3 separate regions of the Homo sapiens genome follow, and all the other regions are linked to region 3. Evidence: promoter capture Hi-C in human tissues and cell types (Jung and others, 2019). All regions are on one chromosome and are shown on one strand. The core of a region is centred on a gene start or on the middle of the fragment in contact, and the rest is flanking DNA. Distances in the headings are between cores, read along the strand shown. Region 1 overlaps ENOX1 (ecto-NOX disulfide-thiol exchanger 1). Region 2 overlaps ENOX1 (ecto-NOX disulfide-thiol exchanger 1). Region 3 holds the start of ENOX1 (ecto-NOX disulfide-thiol exchanger 1).

The links. Contacts are between HindIII fragments. The study calls those that stand out against the background at their distance.
Region 1: a contact is called between a fragment that was not itself captured here and the fragment with the promoter of ENOX1 in region 3, in 2 of the 25 tissues and cell types used here (heart left ventricle and hippocampus).
Region 2: a fragment that was not itself captured here is called in contact with the fragment with the promoter of ENOX1 in region 3 in 5 of the 25 tissues and cell types used here (H1 embryonic stem cells, bladder, hippocampus and 2 more).

The regions. Positions count from the first base shown.
Region 1 is chr13:43,472,500-43,476,437 of GRCh38, forward strand. The region is part of intron 3 of ENOX1 (ecto-NOX disulfide-thiol exchanger 1); the gene reads right to left. Among named protein-coding and RNA genes, the nearest start is that of ENOX1-AS2, 26 kb to the left of the region's middle. The HindIII fragment of the contact is 4,893 bases long and covers 1-3,875 here.
Region 2 is chr13:43,493,977-43,497,873 of GRCh38, forward strand. All of the region lies in intron 2 of ENOX1 (ecto-NOX disulfide-thiol exchanger 1), which reads right to left. Among named protein-coding and RNA genes, the nearest start is that of ENOX1-AS2, 47 kb to the left of the region's middle. The HindIII fragment of the contact is 5,387 bases long and covers 1-3,897 here.
Region 3 is chr13:43,785,037-43,788,940 of GRCh38, forward strand. ENOX1 (ecto-NOX disulfide-thiol exchanger 1) reads right to left here and starts at 1,936. Exons shown (of 17, transcript NM_001347969.2): 1 at 1,616-1,936. The HindIII fragment of the contact is 9,406 bases long and covers 1-3,904 here.

The DNA of each region.
Region 1 (3,938 bases), core at 179-2,678, 310 kb before region 3:
AATTCTAACACACGGCACGGTGCATGTGGAGCCCAGAAAAGAAAGCCTGCCAGATGCCACAGCAATAAATAGAGTAGGGCCTTGGAGACGAAGCATAAAAGGAAAATGTGGAGCATCATATCTGCAGCACCCTTCTCCATCTGGTATTTAGCCCACTGAGGTTATGGGATTTTTGGAAATTCACCTTTGTAGGCTACCTTTAATTATTTTTCTTGTTTATTTGTCCAGTAAACATTTAAATTGTAGCCTAATATGAGCCAAGTTCTATGAAGGTCTTCCAGGACCTTTGGAAAATGAAGCTGGGTACGGAAATTTCAGGAAAAAAATGTTCTAAGTACAGAGTAATGAAAGGTTAATACTATTTACGTCTTGCCATCTCTTTTTACAATATTAATTTCACAAATACAATTTTAGCATTTCCAACCAATAAATTAAGCAACAGCATATTTTCTCAAATGGCAGGAATTCTCAGACAGGAATAAAAGGGAGTAGAATTTCTTAAGTGGGTTATGTCTCACTTTGCTAAGAAGGGCAGAAATGAAAATAGGTTTTCATAAATTATATTTTCTATGGGTCTTGTATTATCATTTTTATAAACAGATATTTTCCAAGCAAGTGGAATTTCTTCACATCGTCTCTCAATTTAGTAATCTTTCTGATGAGCAAACTGAGCTGTAGAATGTTGAACATTGTTTCATCCTACTATGACTGTCATCCTTTGGCTTGTTGAATATATATTCTTGTGATAATTCTAAGAAACTATGACTAATGGATTTTTATCCAGAATTTTAAAACAACAAAAAGTTATTTTAAATTAAATGAAAAATACATTCTATTCCCTTAACTTTTCTTTTTTGGGGGGATTACACATTCTCTGCTAAAATTTAGGATGGAATTTCTAACAGTGATGGCATTGTTCGGTAACTAACAGTCTTTTGTGTGTGTGAAAAATTCTAAATGAGTGGAAATGATCTCAGAAATTTTATCTTGAAAATGTTTGCCTATAGTATTTATTCAAGTGTTGTCCACATTTTAGGAAAGAACTTCAAAAATGTCCTTTTCATAAAAATATGCAGTTCTCTTGTGTCTATTTAAAAGGGAAGTCCCTCTCCTAACTCCAGCATACGCACTCATCTCTGGGCTATCAATAGAAGCTAAAGAAAAAATTAAAGAAACACTGGCTGCATGCCAAATTTTGGGTTAATAGGGAAGAGAAAGCTGGTTGGCAATCTCCCTTCCTAGTCCTTATCTTTTCCTCCCCTTATCTCTCCTGTGCTAGGGGTGCTGGGATGTCTGTACTCTGTAACCTCTTTCTCTGAATGGAGACAGAAGCAGGAAGTCAGGTGCCCTGCACTTTAATGTCTTATTATTCTTCTCCTTGAGTAAATCCTAACTGTTAACGGGAAATAAAATGCTATATGTAAATGAACATCGTCACTTGGAAATCATCATTCTGGGCTACAGCACCAATACACCTGTAATCTTAAAACATCCTTTTAATAGTAATGAATTTGTCAAAAAAGTATATTAGGACATCTATATTCAAATTAAGTTTACCACTGGCTTAGGTTTTTAAAATTAATACAAGTTGCTTAAGATGGTGAAAGGCCAAACTGTTGTGATTCCTTCCACTATGTATCATCCTGGAGCAAAACTCATAGGGGAAAATTAGATATTCGTGAAGCAAGATAGCGAGGGTTTTTGTTGTTGTTGAGGTTCCCATCAGGAACAAGCTTATATTATTGGATTTACTTGAGAGTGTACAACTGCCCTTGAAATGAAACATCACCTACTTCCAACAAGTGTGCTCTCTCCCTAGTTCACCCTAATTAAGGAGGCTTCCCTATATTAATTTTGTCTCTTATACAAGCATCCTTGAGACTCTTTGTGCTTAATTATTTATGTCTATGTCTCAAGTATTAAGAGCACACTTGAAATTTAAGATTTTTCTAAGTTTCTAACACTTACTAGCTTTGTTTTTTGCTTAGACCTGTTAATCTAATTTTGTCTTCTCAACACTTTTGGGAATAATGCATTGCTTATCCTTAAATTTTGCTTTGCAGTTTCTGTATGAAAGATTCCAAATTCAGGTTTCAATGTATTTGAAACGAAGTTGCTGATTCCTCTCACTGGAATTAAGACCTACACTTACTTTTCTCACTCTTCTTTATTCTATTTCAAAGTTTGATGAATATTTTCTCAAACTGTATTTGAAAAATTTAGAATCCAATACCATGACCAATCTTCCTCCTGCTAAGCCATTGGTGGTCTAACTATTACTTTTTAAGAAAAATTAATATGGACCCTGATGTAAAAAGAAAAGAAAAACAAATATAGAGTGATTTCAGCAGGTCTATTACTAGACATGTTTTCTCATGTTTCTCGGTAGCTTGACCCTCTTGTCTGGTATTCCTGAGAGAATGGGCCTACCCACAGAGAAAGGGAGAAGGAGGTAAAGAAGTTGCAGGTTTGCTGGTGATTTGAGATGAATCCTCATGCAACAACTTGAAGGCAGACAGATTGGAAGAGCAGTGAGTTGATTTTCTAAAGTAAAATCCACCAGAAAGAGTTTACACGGTGTTGGAATTCTACCACATTTACAAATTAATGTGCCAGATGCCATCAGCAGATCTATCATTATGATGGCTATTGATAAATATCAAAATTTGACCATTAAGAAAATAGTACTACTAATCTCATACTGGGGATATCAGTACCACTACAGAAAAATTCTACTTAAAAACATATGTGAGCTAAAAGTGAAAAGCATTTCCCTGCTGATTCCACATGTCCACAACAGCCTAAGCAGTGTGGAGATGGCCAGCGGAGCAGCAATAGGGAACGTGTGCCAACATTTCTGATAGGAACTCTATTTTCTGAGGATTTAGGCTCAATTATGAAAGTCTGCTGAAAATGAAACTTGGCATAAATACTGTAGCTTAGTAGAATTCCATCAAATACAACAAAAATGAAGATTAAGGAGAGGGAAATCCTATAAACTCAACTTTCAGAAAAGACCAGAGCATTGCTAAGGAAAATCAAAGGAAGTTCTCAATACTTATTAATTAATCTTTTCATAAACGAAATCATATTTGAGAAGTGGTGAGATCATTTACAGCCTAATAATTTCCAGATATGGAAGGGAATAAATAATTTAAAGGGGTAATGATTGAACCTAGGAAGGGCTGTGTCAGTTCTAGAAATAGTGGCTTTTACTCTTGAATTTTTAAAAGTTCCATTTTCTTAGTGGTGGCATTGGCCCAGGCCACAATCATATACAAAAACATAACTGACCAAAAAAAAAAAAAAAAAAAAAGAAAGGCTTTAATCTCTTAGAATAGCAAAACAGAATTTGAGAAGAGCCTAAACTCTAAGATATACAGCTCTTAAAATTTTACCATAAAGGACACTTTTTTAGAGCCCTAAATAAGGTGGGAACCTTAAACACAGACCTTAATTTTAATAACTCTTGGGAATGGATGGTCTCAGTTAACTCTAATCTTATATTTGTTTATAGACCTCAGTTTTCAATTACAGGAGGTCTAAGCATTGAAGTGTTAGAGTGTTTCAATAGATGAAAGATGATTAATAGAAACTTTAATATCTCTCCAAGTCAAATGACCATGTAACCTCTACAAATATTACTGTAATCGCTACAAATATTTGTTACTTTGTTTATTCATTCAGTAATTCAAAAAAAGATTTATTGAGCACATGCTAGGTATAACGCTCCATAAAACAAGCCTAAAATCTACCAAAAATACAAATATGTATTCACTTGAGAATTTCTGATAGCTCTCATTTAGTGAAGGTACCAGACACTAAACAACATTTAACTTGAGATACATCTGGAACCTTTAACAACATACTAAACTTTAAAAAAAAGTGCATATTTTTCTAATGTGGTTCTGAAACAAAGAGACAAAAAGAAATTTTTT
Region 2 (3,897 bases), core at 191-2,690, 290 kb before region 3:
GGTGCAGGAGGGAAAATAAATGGAGGAACTACCAAATACTTATAAAACCATCAGATCTCGTGAGAACTCACTATCATGAGAATGGCATGGGAAAAACTGCCCTTATGATTCAATTCCCTCCATCTGGTCTCTCCCTTGACATGTGGGGATTATGGGGATTACAATTCAAGATGAGATTTTGGGTGGGGACACAACCAAACCATATCATCCTTAGACCAGTCACACTGACACCCAATCAACCATCACAATAATCACAATTAACTAATACGAAGACCCACAGATACTGTGAGACTAATATGACAGCCCTCCCATCACATTTATCACAATGAATTATAATTTTTGGATTCCTCTCTAATATGGTAAGCTTCATGTTCTGTCAAGCAGAGACCACGTACATCATGTTTGCAAACAAATATTGTACTGTGTCCAGCACAGTGACTACATTCTTGTTAAACAAATGAGTCAAAACTAAAGCTTCTCCAGCAGTGTCTTCATATAACCTAAGAAAATGACGGAACAGTCCCCCAACTAACTTATTGTTTACGATTTATTTGTACCTTTACTGAAGGTACCTTTAATATTGTAAGAAGGCACATATATTCATTCTTTCACAATAATAAACAAAATAGTAGAGATGAGACAAATCATGACACACGGGAGTGACACACAGAGTGGAGTTTTATGGAGTTGGAGAATAAGATGATTGTGAAATTGAGAATAACAAATTTGAAATTTTATAGGCTGCTTTAGAGCAGAAGTATCAGATTTCAATTAAAAGTGTTTTTGAAGATGAACGTGGCATCAAAGTTTAGAATAGGAAAAAAGGCTATTGCTATTTGAATAGGTCAGTTAGACAGCAGTGGAAATATAAAAGTAGGGTTGGATGGAAGAAAAATGCAGAGAAAAAATTCCATCAATTAGATGAAATGGATAATGAGAAAAAAGATGCAGTCAACAATTATAGGAATATTTTGAGCCTAGGTGTGGGGGAGACTGTAAGAACACTGACAGAATGTGGAGATTCAAGAGGGGAGCTGGTATATGTCTGCATGCTTAGGGAGTATAAAATGATAGTGACTTTACTTTGAGATATGCCAAGTTTGAGAAATGCCACATTCCTTCCTATGTTTTATGAATACAGAAAATCTAAGTTTGATAAATGTTTCACCAAAGATCAATAGAGACTATCAAAGACTATCTCTAATTTATTGTTCAGCGAGTATAATATATGGTAAAATGCACTGATTTTAGGTGTACAGTTCACTAGGCTTTGATAAATATACCTTCCCAAGTAACCTACACACAAGTCAAGATACAAAACATTTCCATCACCCCTGAAAGTTTCCTTCTAGTCAAGCCCCACTCAAATGTGAAATTTCAATGTCTATCACCATAAATGGCTTTGCCTATACTTGAACTCTGTATATAATCATACGGTATACCAGATAGCATATGTTCTTTTATGCCTGGTTCCTTTTGTTCAATGTAATGATTATAATTCTTGTTAAATCTTCCAGTAGTTAATTCATAAGTATTCAATTGTATAAACGACTAATAACCTACTACATATAATATTACATTATATGAATTTACCATAACTTATCCATTCTCCTGTCTATGGTCATTTGGCTTGATCCAGTATTTGGCTATTAATAAACAAAGCTATTACAAACATTCTTCTCAGGGCTTTATGTTCTTATACAAAGCCATATATCCTTTCATTCTTAAGTAAATAGGTGTGAGGTTGCCAGGGCATTAAGTTTATAAGGAACCACTAGTTTTCAAAAAAATCCTGTAATATGTTATACCCTCAGGAGCACGGTACAAGAATTTCAGTATTACCACATCCTCACCAATGTTTGGTGAGCTCAGTCCTTTTATTTTTATCTTTTTCTTGTGGATGTGAAGTGGTACTTAAATTTACATTTCCATCATGGCTAATGATGTCATTATTATGGCTTCAAATGTTTATTAAACATTCTTATCTTCTTTTGTGAAGGTTCTGTTTAAGTAATTTGCCAATTGGAAGAAAAATATTTTCTTTGTATTTTTTGAGTTGTAAAGCTTTGTTAAATATTCTAGATTCAATTCCTTTTCATACATATGTATTGCAAACTATTAATATTTGCCCTTTCTGTGGCTTGCCTATTAAAAATGTTTTTTTATAGGGAGCCTTTAATGTTTGTGGAGTATAGTTAACTGATTTTTTTCTATAATGTGAGTGCTTTTAGTATCCTAAGAAATAGTTATCATCTTTTGACTTTTTCTAGAAATCTTATAAATTTTACTTTCATGTAAAGATCTAATTCAAAGTATATACTTTGAATCAATTTTTGTGTATGGTCTGAAGAAGGTGTTAAGGTTCATTCTGTTTCAATAATTGCTCTAGCAATTGGCTCTTTTTCTTTTTCTATTTTTTTTTTTAAGAGACTGTGTCTTACTCTGGTTGCCCAGGCTGGAGTGCAGTGGAACAATCATAGCTGACTGTAACCGAGTACCCCTGGGTTCAAGCAATCCTGCCTCAGCTTCCCAAGTAGCTGGAACTACTGATGTGCACCACCATGCTCAGCTACTTTGACTATTTATTTAGAGATAGGGTCTCGCTATGTTGCCCAGGCTGGTCTTAGACTCCTAGGCTCAAGCAGTTCTCCCACCTCGGCCTCCCACAGTGTTGGGATTATAGGCATGAGTCACCACACCCAGCCTCCATTTCTTAATGAGCCTTTCTCCTATATGTAACAAAATTGCTTTGTTATTAAATCAATTTACTGTATAAGTCTGTGTCTATTTCATGATAACATATTCTGTTCCATTGATCTATTTGTCTATCTTTGTCTAGTATCATATTTTCTTAACACTTTTATAGAAGTCTTGAAATCAGAAAGCTAGTCCCCCAACACTGTCATCTTTTTCTAAAATAATTTGACACTAATAAGTCCTTATAATTCTGTATAAATTTTAGAACCAATTTATTAATTTCCACCAAAAAAACATAAACTTTTGGGACTGTGTTAAATATACACATATTTTGAAATAAAAATCTTAATATAGAGTCTTCCATTTGCAATTTCATTTACCAAATGTTTCTTACTGTATAGAAATAGCACTGATACTTTACATTTATCTTGCATCCTGAAACCTTGTAAATTCAAGAGATTTTTGCTAAGTTCAAATAGATCTTTTTTAGACTCCATAGGATTTTCTATACAATTTTTTAAGTAAATTTTTGACTTGCTGTCTCCAAATATTTTTATTATTCTTTTCCAATCTATATACTTTTTATTTATTTTACTGGCCTGACTGCATTGGTTAGGACCTCCAGTACAATGTTGAACTGGTGAGAGTGAACACCCACATCTCTTTTCCTGATTTGGAGGGAAAGTATTCACTGTTAACATCCTTAGTTGAAGGTTTTTCACAGATTCCCTTTAACAGATTAGGAAAGATACCTTTTATTCCTAGTCTGAGTTTTTATCATGATTAGAGGTTGAATTTTATTAAATGCTGTCTCTCTAACTAGTAAGATAACCTTTTTTTCTATTAATGTGGATTGATTTTGAATATTAAAGAATGCATACATACTTGAAATTCATTTTTGTCAGGATATATTACTGTATGTTAATACATAATAACACATCACTGCAGTGATTATGTGTTATTTCCTAATTGTATGTTAAACATTTTTGTGTCTATGATCATAAGGCATATCGATGTGTGACTTTTTTAATAATGTCCTTATCAGGACTTGGTATTAGAATTACAAAGCTCTCAAACAATGACTAGAAGTGTTCTCCCCACCTCTATTTCCCGTCTTTGTTTAAGACTGGTATTTCTTCTTAAATGTTTGAAGGAATTCATTAGTGAAAGCATCTGGATCTGGAGTGTTCTTTGTGGGAA
Region 3 (3,904 bases), core at 686-3,185:
ACTTTAACTGTTTAACGCATCTCCTCCAAGAGGGCTTTCACTTTTTCAAACTCATTATCACTTTCAAATCTGTATATTACAAGAAACTGGAATGAGCAATATCCATTACATGAATAGACATTATTAATATAAAGTCTCTATCAAAGTGGCAACGCTAGTAAAACAAAAGCAGAGTGTGTTAACCATAAACTAAGTACCAGCCAATATTACCACTTTGCTTGACAGAGCCGTCTCCAACAGCACGCACCCACCTCTCGAGCGGGCCCACCAGCTCAGCTTTCCAAGCTCGCTCACCTGCGTCTCTCCTCCAGGAATCAATTTCCTTCCCACTTTCTCCACCCTCTTCAGATCCCTTAAGCACGCTTCATTGCTTTCTCCAAACTACCAGACTCAAATCTGCAGCCCAGTTGGCCAGGAACCTTTCCATACGCACGTATTTCCTGCATTCTCCTGGGTCTGCTTTTAAAAATTGCTACCACCAAACAAATGCAATCTTAACAAAATTGGGATTACAAAGCCAGTTTTTTTCATGTAATGTTACAGCAGTGAAAGATTGAGGGAGAGAAAAGGAGAGAAGCAGGAGTGTATCTGGGTGAAGAAGCGTGGCTCAGTGGCTATACAGTGAGACGCAGAGATTCCACAGAGCTGGGCTTGCCCACCTGTCGACCCCACTTTCCCCATGTGCTCGCCGCGGGATGACAACCACAACACTCCAGAACCACCCCCCTTCCGAAAGAGGGCGGGGTTACGCCTTCAGCCAATCAGGACCCGCGAGCCCCGGGTGTCCAACCTATGGGGTGGCTGTGGCCGTGCAGGGGGAGGACGTGGGGTGGTCTGGGAGGGGCCGCGTCCGTGGGAGGCTCGCACGTGTCGGGTCCGGAGAGGCGGGGAGGCGGCCGGCGTCCAGCGGCCGAGGCGCGGGCTCTGCACCCTGGCAGCGGCCGAGTCCGGCTGCCCCAGTGCCTCCTTTACCTCGCGTTGGGCCAGGCAGGGCGCGCTCCCGCCGACGAAGACCTGTCCAAGGTGTCCGAGCTCCCCGCGAGAGGGGACAGTCACGAATAACAACAGTACCCAGCGCAGACTAGGCGGGGAGGAAAGTTTCCGGCCCGCAGCAGAGCGGAGTCCGCCAAGGCTGGAGGAAAAGGGATGCAGAGCGGGAGGGTGAAAACCTGAAAGAAGAGGGCAGCGGGAACACTGTGTGGGCAGGAACGGGTCCCGGGGGCGACGCCCGCAGGGGGAGACGGGTGCGGGGTGCGCTGTCCAAGGTGCAGGGGAGGTGACTGGCGCGCGGCGGGCGCGGAGCCCGGAGCTGACACTGGCTGGCGGGCGGAGGGGAGAGCGGGGAACAGCTGTCTGGGGCGCTGGGCACCCCCGGGCGCGTAAAAGTGAGGGAGCTTGAGACGGGGCACGGCGGGGAAGGGCGTGGGGGCTGCACCGAAGCCCCCACGCGTCCACGCACCCCTCCTCACCAGCCTCACCTCTAGCTCCACTCCCCTCCCCCCTCGCCCACTCCCCTCTCAGTCTAGATCCAGGTGCCGTGGCGGGGGTGAGACCAGAGGACCCCGGCTCGGAGCCCGGACGCCCCAGGGAGGCTGCGGGCCCCGGAGCTGCTTACCTGGGGCCGCCGTATGGGGAGCGGAGGCAACCCGCTGCGCGGAGTGGGGCGCCGGGCGCGGCGCGGCTCCTCCTAGCCTCGGCGTCCTCCTCCTCCTTTGCTTCTCCCGGACTCTGTCCCGGGCACGGAGCTGGGAGACGCGGCCGGGCTGCAGTCGCCGTTCCCTCTGCTGCCGCCGCCGCTGCAGCAGACAGAGGACGCCCCGTGGCGGCTGGAAGCCTGTGTGAGTAGCGGCGCCCGGGAGAGCGGGGATCTGCTGAGGGGCGCTGGAGACTCCGCGGCTGGAGGCGCGCGGGCGTGCGCACGCGCGCCTGCGAGTGTGAGTGTATGGGTGCGCGCGCGCCCACGGGGTGGGGGAGTCGCGAGGGGAGGGGGAGAGAGGCCGAGAGATGCTCGTAGGGACCGAGGCAAAATTCTACGACCCCGGAAATCCGTAAACGCGGGGAAGGAGGATCGAACGCGTGTCTCGCTTGGAGAAGCTGCCCACGGGGCGGCAGCAGAGGAGGAGGGGAAGTCAGCGAGGCGCGCTAGGGCTCCGGATCCCAGCCCGGCAGAGCCGAGCGGAGCGCGCAGCCACCGATGCAGCAGAGGCGGCGCCCGCAGCCCACGGTCGCGCTGCCCCCTCTCGGGAGGGGCCGAGGCCGCTCGCTCCCGCCACCGCCGCCGCGGTCGGGACTGCTCTACTGGGAGCGGGGGAACCGAGAGAGGGACCGCACGGTTGCTACGGCGACCTTGGAGGGGCCGGGCCCGCTGAAGGGCCAAGAGAAGAACCCGGGCGCACGTGGCCGACTCCAGGCTGGAGCGGGCGTGTTACAGGATTGTGGGCTTGGGGTAGACGGTGGAATTGGGCCGCGTGGCCTGGGCAGATGATGCGGGGTGTGCGGCCCAGAGTGGCTCGGCCGGGGTGCGGTCAGCATTCAGGTTGGTAAGGGTGAGGGGATCCTAACCCCAGGTGACATGTTGCCTTTTTTTCCTCCTTGGAGGCTACTTTTTCTCAAAGTTACCCACTTCCCAGGTAAGAATGCCGGCCTCCTCTTTGTTAGGATTCAACTTAGCTGTGCAGGCATCTAAGCAGTGCCTCCTTAGAGTCAGGCTCGTCCAAGAACCGCTCCCACCACCTCCCCACACACACCCACATCCCCCGATCCTCCATCCCAACTACATTGTAATACTTCAGAAATAAATGTTTAAAGCACATTTACATTCTCTGCCTCTTAACAGATATATTGTCTTAGTAGTATACTTTTCCTTGCTTATTTTAAATTCTGAGTGGGATTTTATTCACACAAGCATTTCTTCAAGGGTCGTAAGGTCTGGGTAATACTTGAAATACCCTTTCTGGCAGGAATCCTCAATGCAGGGATTGTGTTTTGCACACTTTTGCATGCCTTCCAGTGCTTAGCATAGTACTCTGTACTTTGTGAGTTCCCTGTAAATGTTGAATGAATGACATTGTTTTCTAGCTTCACGTAACCTGAAGGCAAAGACTTGGATGCTGGGAAAGTCATTACCACCCCACTAGGCTTGCCTGATTTTAACTTATGCCATTTCCTTGTGTGTGGCTATTTTTCCCCCTGGCGGTCAGAACCCCAATGCAAAGAAAGAAAATAATACTTATCCATTGTGCACCCTTAACAAAGGATGCATGTAGAAGCACTCTGCAGGGACCCCAGTGGGATGCCCTGGGTGTGAGGGGGCCAAAGCTCAGAACCTAACCTCTCAAAATGTGAAAGTCAGTGTTCACCAGCAGTTTATACTGTCCCTTCTAGAGCAGAAGGATGGGGAAAACAGTTTTAAGAGAAATACACTTTTGTTTTTTGTTTTTTGAGACGGAACCTCGCTCTGTCACCCAGGCTGGAGTGCAGTGGCGCGATCTCGGCTCACTGCAACCTCTGCCTCCCGGGTTCAAGCGAATTCTCCTGCCTCAGCCTCCTAGTAGCTAGGATTACAGGCGCCGGCCACCACGCTCGGCTAATTTTTTTTTTTTTTTTTTTTTTTTTTTTTTTTTAGTTTTTAGTTTTTAGTAGAGACACAGTTTCACCATGTTTTCCAGACTGGTCTCCAACTCCTGACCTCAAGTGATCCGCCTGCCTCGGCCTCCCAAAGTGCTGGGATTACAGGCATGAGCCACCGCTCCAGGCCAGAAATACACATTTCTAATAGCTTATCAGGTACGCATTTTTCTCCTGTAAAGAGTAGTGTTCATGGACACTGACCAATACATGCAGGGTCACCCCAGACTGCTAATTCTGCTGTCTGGTGTAGCACCAAGTCCACATCCTTCGACCT